3 separate regions of the Homo sapiens genome follow, and all the other regions are linked to region 1. The links are contacts of gene promoters, found by promoter capture Hi-C in blood cells and fetal thymus (Javierre and others, 2016). All regions are on one chromosome and are shown on one strand. Each heading gives the region's core, a stretch centred on a gene start or on the middle of the fragment in contact. The rest is flanking DNA. Distances are from core to core; before and after follow the strand shown. Region 1 holds the start of PDE4B-AS1 (PDE4B antisense RNA 1). Region 2 has its middle 67 kb from the start of SGIP1. Region 3 has its middle 28 kb from the start of SGIP1.

The links. Contacts are between HindIII fragments. The CHiCAGO score rates a contact against its expected background, and 5 or more counts as called.
Region 2: a fragment that was not itself captured here is called in contact with the fragment with the promoter of PDE4B-AS1 in region 1 in 6 of 17 cell types (naive CD8 T cells, total CD4 T cells, naive B cells and 3 more); the score reaches 8.0 in naive CD8 T cells.
Region 3: a fragment that was not itself captured here is called in contact with the fragment with the promoter of PDE4B-AS1 in region 1 in 2 of 17 cell types (total CD4 T cells and total CD8 T cells); the score reaches 5.3 in total CD4 T cells.

The regions. Positions count from the first base shown.
Region 1 is chr1:66,048,986-66,052,045 of GRCh38, reverse strand. It overlaps PDE4B-AS1 (PDE4B antisense RNA 1), which reads left to right and starts at 1,328. Exons shown (of 3, transcript NR_123718.1): 1 at 1,328-1,515. The region is part of intron 3 of PDE4B (phosphodiesterase 4B); the gene reads right to left. The HindIII fragment of the contact is 6,978 bases long and covers 1-3,060 here.
Region 2 is chr1:66,466,092-66,469,162 of GRCh38, reverse strand. No RefSeq gene overlaps it. Among named protein-coding and RNA genes, the nearest start is that of SGIP1, 67 kb to the left of the region's middle. The HindIII fragment of the contact is 3,391 bases long and covers 85-3,071 here.
Region 3 is chr1:66,504,405-66,507,104 of GRCh38, reverse strand. No RefSeq gene overlaps it. Among named protein-coding and RNA genes, the nearest start is that of SGIP1, 28 kb to the left of the region's middle. The HindIII fragment of the contact is 2,108 bases long and covers 217-2,324 here.

The sequences.
Region 1 (3,060 bases), core at 79-2,578:
GCAGAAGAAAAGCTGAGCTTCAATGCAGGCCCCACCACCTTGGTAAACCCAACAGAACCTCAGAAGATGGCCATACCTTTATACCCCAACCTTCATCAGCTATGAAAGTAGGCTGCCCTAAGGAGTGAATAGTATGACTTTGGATAAAAAGGCAGGAGCTGGGAAGTGTTTCTTTTAAGAGGTATCTGGATGCTACATCACCTTGTCTACCACAATACATGAGTGATAATAATCTATAAGTAAACATTTCCAGAAAACATATCAAATGTTATAGAAAAACGTTATATCTTCTATTCTTGATATAAAATTCTGCTTGGCAATTTATCCAAATCAGCAAATAACCAAATAATATCAACCCTATTTGAGATGTTTTTGAAGGTCAAAAGTAGCATTTTAATAGCATCTATTCATTCACTTTGTAAACTGTCATCTAATTATATATTTACATATATATAATAAATGTTTTCTACCTCTGTTCACAGTCTTCAAACATGAACAAATTATTCTTTTTCAGCGAGAGGAATAAAGGAAAAGAAATCTTCTCTTTTCTCTTCATTCTGAAATACTAAAATGAATAATTTATATTCCCAGATTCCGTTCCCTAATCTTTCCCCCAAAATAGAAATGTTCACTCCATGGAGCAGGGTTTGAATTTGGTTCTCTCCTATACTGACCCAATAATCATGAGGTTGCTATTAGTTTCCCTATTTTAAGGTGAGGTCGAGTGACTTGTCACAGATTCTAATACTCATTATTCAAACACATTTTCTATCACAATCTTCAATACTTTCACTTATTTTGTTTTCTTTCAAATTTAATTTTTTTTAATTTTATTATTATTATACTTTAAGTTTTAGGGTACATGTGCACAACGTGCAGGTTTGTTACATATGTATACATGTGCCATAAGAGAGACTTCAGGATACAAAAAGTTGTTCCAAAGGCAAAAACATACTTATACTTTAGAAGAAAATTTAACTTTTAAAAACAGAAAAGTCATCATTTCTTTGTACCCACACAAGTGGTGATCCAGTTTTTTACATTTCCATTGGGAATTTTCTGTGTCTAGATTCCTCACTCTGCCTCAGGCTGTTCTTTTCTTAATTCAGTCCTTCCTGTGTAGTTTCTTTATTCTCATTTCATGGCACCTCTTCCTCCCATTGCTTTTCCCTTCCTCATTTTTCAGTCTGTCCTTTGGATGTCCATGACAGGGGCAGCATTTGTTTCTATAGTAACGATGATGCTCCTTCACGGATCTCCAATACCTCGATGTTCTAACACAGCCATTCAGGATACCCTGCCTTTCATCATTTTTAGTCAGACAGGAAAAACTGAAGGGATTCTTTTTAACAAAGGTGTATCTCAGAACAGAATCAACGTTACATGTTTTCTTGGCCCTGTTAAGTATGCTGTACATCTGGAGGCATTGCTTTTAAAGTAGAGCATGGCTTTGCAATACAAGATTAACATTCTTCCCAAAGTCTATACGGCATTGCGAATATCATACATTAGTAGGTAAATTTAAATGAAATACTTTATGTATGTAGGTGTGTGTGTGTGCATACATGTAAAATCACTAAATATATATGGAGAAATCAACACTGTCCATTATACTTTCTTAGAATTTATTAGGTTCTCACAAAGTTGAGCCAAGAGGCCACTGCTTTGTTTTCCAAATGTCCCAAATTCTATTTCTGCTAAATGATGTCACTAATGTCATGGTTACAACAATACTGCACAGAGCCTCCTTCCTGCCACTGGCCACCGATACAATAGATCATTTAAGCAGCTGAGTCATTAGTAAAAACAATAGATTTTTCTACTGATACTCAATTGAACATATATTTCCAATTGAACATAGAATTCATGGAAATAAATTTTAAAGTTTCCTCATATTATATTAGACAACAGTGTATATCCTGTATTCTTTAATTTGTTGAGGATATAATCTGTCTCCATAAATCCGTATGCTGAATCTCTGAATCAAAGAAACCTAGGTAAAAGGGACTTTTTGTTGCCTATGTCCCAAAACTACTGTCTTTTTGAATTATTCTTCTAAAAATAGTTTTAAATGTATTATTTATTTGTGTGGAGTTTTCACACTACTTTAATTCCTAGCAGTTGTGTGGGAAACGTAAATACATTTTTTTCATCTCTAAAGCAAAAGGTAACCCGGGATCCAATTCGTATTTATACAAAATTAAAGTGAAAGGCATTTTGAGGATGTACACGGTGGTTGAAATGCTGAAATTAAGTTCTTGGCATTACTGGTATCCAACCCCACCTTGCTGCCTTCCACATTTATACATTCAGGAAGCCCCATACCACACTGCAAATGGGCATATCACTTCATTTCCTGCTCTATTCTCTTGAAGGATTATTTAGGAAATCCATGCATATGTGGCCCAGTTTTAGAAAATATCATGTCAGCATACTAATTTTAATACAAATAAGTTACATGTTAATTACATGAGTTTTCATGTTTTTAAATATTAAACGTAGGTCTAGTTGAAAAACCTCCAGAAATAGCCAGGTCTCTTACTTAGATACTCTCTTCAGCACCCTCTATTATTTGGTGAGGCATCCTAAGAAGGTATTTTTGTTACTCAAACCATACTACTCCTGTTTTAAAGCCCATCAGCTGGCAATACTAACACAGACACCACACTCCCACTCTTTTCCCTCTGCCAACAACCAGGCATGGGAAATGTATGAAATCCATGAGGGTAACTGACCTGACAGTTGTAACATTCAGAGATTGTAGCTTTTCCATTCACAATATCTGAAATGAATTTTAGATGATGCTATTTAAAGCAGCACCTCAATTTTACATGTGAAGAAACTGAGGCAAAGAGTAGTGACTTTGTCATGATTAGGATTCAGGTTCACAATAGAATTTAGAGTAGAGCCTAATCTCCTTATTCTACACTTACGATATTTCCACTCTCAGAATAACAATTAATAAATATTTAAAAGTTTACTCAAATATAAGATATGGAGATGTGCTAGATGTAAAAGCACCAAGTTCCGGGGGCCAATGCATTACTGGATAAATCATAG
Region 2 (3,071 bases), core at 531-3,030, 420 kb before region 1:
CTAACTGGGATGTTTCTAGAAATGGCATTAGATGGAGGCCAATGCATATCTCTGCACAGAAGCTGGCAAAAATCCCACAAAGCTTGATTTGGTCCTGTAACTAATTCAGCAAAGTAACACAGAGCTAAGTAGCTTGTGATTTCCCATAAAAGTCTTGAATGTTGGGAGTTAAGATCCAGTTCAGTTGCGTTTGACTGCATGTTAATGGTGTTTCCTTTTAATTGGATGAATCAAGTGTTGGCTAAATTTCTGAGAGTCTCTTGAGTGTTGTTAAGCCTTGTAGAGTCGTACTCAGAAAATATGTCTTTAGTGTGTTGGGATCCTGATGAAAAAGCTAATAAACTTAGGCTGCATTCATTGAAATGTAATATCAAGTTGAAAACAGACTACAGGAGGAGTAGTCATGTCCTGTTCTGAGAGCTATACTTATACAGTTACACTGGAATATAAAGTACAAGAAATGCCATCCAGGAATGAGCCTAGGAAGAAAAGTTTACCGATAATAGTTGAGTGAACACTGGATGTTTTCCCTGAAGAAATGAAGACTCACAGTTACCTAATTTCAATTAGTTAGTTACAGAACAAAATCAAGCTCAAGGAACAATGGAAGAAGTTTAGAAGTGTCCTCACAAAGAATTAGCTTGGTTAGGTTTGCTCCAAAAGTCTGCATAAAGACTCAGTGGAAGTTTCTGGTAGGCAAATTTGGGAATCTAAAATTAGGAAGAAAACCCAGAATTTTCAACTATAGAAAGAGAGCTGCTTCTCAAAACAAAATCCACCCCAGACTGAGATTTTCCAGCTGAAGCTGGGAACTTCACTTCATGTAATCTGTAAAGAATCCTGTGATTAGAGGGAGTAAATCTGATTAGGAGCAAAGGGTTAAGAAGGTGTTGAAGTTGGACACACCTGAGTTTGTACACCAGCTCCATAATTACTTGGCTAGAAATTTGAGGAAGGCATTTATCTTATCTGAATCCAAGTCTTGGCAATTTTTTTTTCTTTTTGAAATGGAGTCTCACTATGTTGTCCAGGCTTGAGTGCAATGGCACAATCTAGGCTCACTGCAACCTCTGCCTTCTGGATTCAAGTGATTGTCCCTGCCTCAGCCCCCCTAGTAGCTGGGATTACAGGCATCTGCCACCATGCCCAGCTAATTTTTGTATTTTTAGTAGAGACAGGGTTTCGCCATGTTGGTCAGGCTGGTCTCAAACTCCTGACCTCAGGAGATCCGCCCACCTCAGCCTCCCAAAGTGCTGGGATAACAGGCATGAGCTACCAAGCCCGGCCTCAAGTCCTAGCATTTTAAAAATAGAGGTAACACTTTCCTCAATGAGTTTGTTTTGTGATGAGTAAATAAGGTCTGGTATGTCAATAGTCTGCTAAAATGCTTGACATATAGAAGTCACTTCTCTGAGTAACCTATGAAGTCCTTCTCAGTTTTAAGAATGCCAAAATCTGAGAAAGGTACAGGGAGTGTATGATATTTTTTACTAGGTGTATTTTTACATGTTGATTCTCTTTTATTATACATGCTATGGTCCTGCCATGTATTCCATTGGCTTGAAATACCCTACATTCAAAGCCATGGCCAGAGGTTCTGAAATGATTGTGAAGATCACTCAGGGCACATTTGGTGTTTTCAATATGGAATTATGAATGAGCTCAGTTAAGATGCTTCATTTTGCTTTGTCTTAGACAAAACAGCAATACTTTACTGTCTATTGCAATATCAGAGTTTGTGTTTTGGTTTTACTATAAAGTAATTCCACAAACATAGAGAAGTCATTTCACTTCTGATGACCTCAAATTCCTTATCATTGAAACAAGGATGTTGATTAGATAATCTTTAAGACCCTTCCTATTTATAAAAATAACAGGCTTTTTTCTTTTTTTAATTTAATTTAATTTTATTTTATTATTATTATACTTTAAGTTTTAGGGTACATGTGCACAATGTGCAGGTTTGTTACATATGTATACATGTGCCATGTTGGTGTGCTGCACCCAGTAACTCGTCATTTAGCATCGGGTATATCTCCAAATGCTATCCCTTCCCCCTCCCCCCACCCCACAACAGTCCCCAGAGTGTGATGTTCCCCTTCCTGTGTCCATGTGTTCTCATTGTTCAATTCCCACCTATAAGTGAGAACATGCGGTGTTTGGTTTTTTGTCCTTGTGATAGTTTGCTGAGAATGATGGTGGTTTTTTCTGTATGGGCAGTTCTGTCAACATTTTTCCAGAATGAAAAAAGTAGATAACACCCTGGAGAATGCAACTTGAATTCCAAAGAACTTTGTCACGACAGAGAATTAGGAAGAGAGCAATGGAAAAATGTTCTCTGGAAACTAATACAGAAAATAGTAAATTGTGCTAATTCAAGGTAAGAAAAGTAGCAAATTTGGATTATATGAGACTTCAGCTAAACATGAGTCAGGGAGTAAATAACAAATAATGAAAAGAAATGCACTGGGTGTCCTGGAAATCTTATATGGGAAGGTTAGGGAATACTTCAAGATCTCGTTTCGATAGAGGAGGAGGGATTTTCCAGACATACCAGGGGTTCAGCATTTAGGGCTCAGGCCCTGGTGTGCGTGTGAGAGGACATGTTGTACTGCTGGAGCAGCAAGCAGGTTTGATACATCAGGAGTTCCAGGTGTGCATAAAGGAGTAGAAAGGCATGAGGAGGGAGGAGAAAGAATGTGTTTAGAAGCTACAGTGTGGTGAAGAGGAGTAGTAGGAGCCTAGGCATAGTGCATTTATTATCTTCATCTTTCTAAAAGAATTACACAGGGACCATGCAAAGTACTATAGAGAAAGAACTAACCAGCTAACTTATTTCTTTCCTAGCTTCCTTTTGTAAATATTTACTGTGCATCTGCAATAGAACATACCTAGTGTTAGGTACAGCAGACATTCAAATCCTCTCTCTAGGCTATAGGACATCTCTCCTCTGCACAATACTATGATTTGGGAAATCTGGCTTGTATTCAATTTAACCATCCCCTGGGTCCCCAAAAAGTTGCTCCCTCCTGCTTTGGCTCCCTGATTCAGCAGATGCCTCAGGTTAAGCC
Region 3 (2,700 bases), core at 21-2,520, 460 kb before region 1:
AGAACATAACCAACAAACACACTTAAGCCCAGAAGTCAGTAAAACATTAATAGTATGAATTAAATTGAGCCCTTTGATGTTTTTATCTGATAGACAACTCACTTCTAAGAAAAGATCTGCATGATTTACCAACAAATAAAAACTACGAAAAATATCCAAAAGTCCAGGTTTCTGTATCTTCTGGTTTCTGGGTCTTCTTTTGGAAAATGGGAAGCTTTGTTAATGTCAGCCTCAAACTGACACATGGGAATAATAAACTAAAGCTAAATGCTGACTATCCAATTAGGACATACTCTTTCTAGTTTGTCACAGTCTTCACCACCCCCTCCTAATCACATCTAGCTTATCACCTAGTGACTTATCTCTCTTGACACGGAAAACTGTATCAGGAAAGTGTATCAGGAAAGTATATGAACCCCACCTTACTAGAAATCCTAGCTTTGTGCATATTTTTCCAAGTTCCTAATATTTGGAAATAGAGGTTTCAAATTTTCTTTCTTTTTTTTTTTAACATGGTCTTGTAATCATATGACAGATTCTTCTTGCCTGTGGCATAGATAAGCCCAATTCACTGAGATAGCATTATTGCAGTAGAGTTTAATTAATGCAAAGCCAGCCAAGTGGTAGAATAGGAGTTTATTATTACTCAAATCAGCCTCTTCGAGAACTCAGAGGCTAGGGCTTTTATGGGCAATTTGGAGCTAGAGGATGGGTGCTGCTGATTGGTTGGTGATGAAATCATAGGAATGTGGAAAACGGATGGTCCTCATGCGCTGAGTCCACCTCTGGGTGGGAAACACAGGACCAGCTGAGTCATGAGTCACTGGTCTCAGTCGGGTGAGTTGCCAGAATGCAAAAGTCTGAAAAATATCTCAAAAGACCAATCTTAAGTTTTACAATAGTGATGTTATCTATAGGAGAAATTGGCAAAGTCACAAATCTTGTGACTTCTGGCCATATGATTCCTGAGCATTAAGAGATTATAGAAAAACAAGCTAGGGACAATGGCTGGTTATTGTTTAGCTACACCTACATTTTAGCAGAATTCAGGCCCCTCCCGTAATTCTAATCATTGTTCTTTCATGCCAAAAATTCAGACAAAGGTGGTTTCCATTCCTGAACAGGAGGGGATCAGTTTTAGTAAGGGACTATTATCAATCATCCTTACATTAAAGTTAAACTATAAACTAAATTCCTCCCATGGTTAGCTTGGCCTACACCCAGGAATGAGTGAGGACAGCCAGCCTGTGGGGCTAGAAGCCAGCCTGTGGAGTCAGCTGTGCTAGACTTCTTTCACTGTCATAATCTTTGCAAAGGTTGTTTTAAGTTTGCTCTGTTGCCCTGGCTGAAGTGCAGCATCATGGTCATAGCTCACTGCAGCCTCAAACTCCTAGGCTCAAGCAATCTTTCCGTTGCAGCTTCCCAAGTAGCTGGGAATACAGGCACATGCCACCACACGCAGCTGAAAGTTTCAAATTTTCTACCTTAAAAATTGAAATAGGCTGGGCGAGGTGGCTCACGCCTGTAATCCCAGCACTTCCGGAGGCTGAGGCGGGCAGATCCCTTGAAGTCAGGAGTTCAAGACCAGCCTGGTCAACATGGTGAAACCCCATCTCTACTAAAAATACAAAAATTAGCCAGGCGTGGTGATGGGTGCCTATAATCCCAGCTACTTGGGAGGCTGAGGCAGGAGATTCACTTGAACCGCGGAGGTTGCAGTGAGCCAAGATTGCATCATTGCACTCCAGCCTGAGCAACAGAGCAAGACTCCGTCTCTAAAACAAACAAACAAAAAACCACAAACAACAACAACAATAACAACAAAAAAATGGAAACTTCTGAATATTTGACATGAGGCTTTTGATGTGTTTTTGTTTGTTTGTTTTTGTTTTCATGGTTAGCCTGTTTCTCTTAAAAGCAAAGTTGAGAGAAGGAAAAATACCCACATACTGTATTCTCTTTTCAGTTAGACTTTAGGTTTACCAAGTTTTACCCCACTGCCCCACCACTTCACAATTAATTATGCACATTGAGAAATTGTAACTTATATCAAATTATGTTCTAAATATATTGTTTGTTTCATGGAAGTAAAGATTAATAGCCTAAAAGGGGCTTTAAAGATTATATGTTCAACCCTCTCAATTTATAAGAGAATGGAAGCTCAAGGAGTTAAAGGAACGTGGCCAAGTTCATGCAGCCACACTGCATGGCAGAACTTAAATTCAGATTCTTTTTTTAACTCCCCCAAATTATATTTAAAGACCATAATTAGTTTAGGATTTTTGGAAATACTTTTATCATAAAAAATTGCAAAGGCAGAAGCTTACAGAGTTGAATATATTATATGTATGCCTACCACCCAGCTTTATTGAATTTTAATATGTATTTAGATTTGGAAATAAAATATTATAGGTAGAGTCGAAGCTCTTCTCCCATGTTCTCCTCCAAAATTCTCATCACTTCTGCCTTTCCTCAGAGGTAACGATCTGAAAAATTTGATGTGTTTCAGGAATTCCTTTAGGAACACTTTTAAAAGGAAATAAATTCTAAAAGTAATTACATTTACAGAGAGTTTTTATTCTTACTAAACTCAGTAAACCTTTAATGTTAATAAGAGAATGCAAATAAAGTTTGTTTACAGAAAGAAAAAAAAAACACCCAGTGGAAGGAAACTGACTGTCCGGATATGTCTTCCAGCAA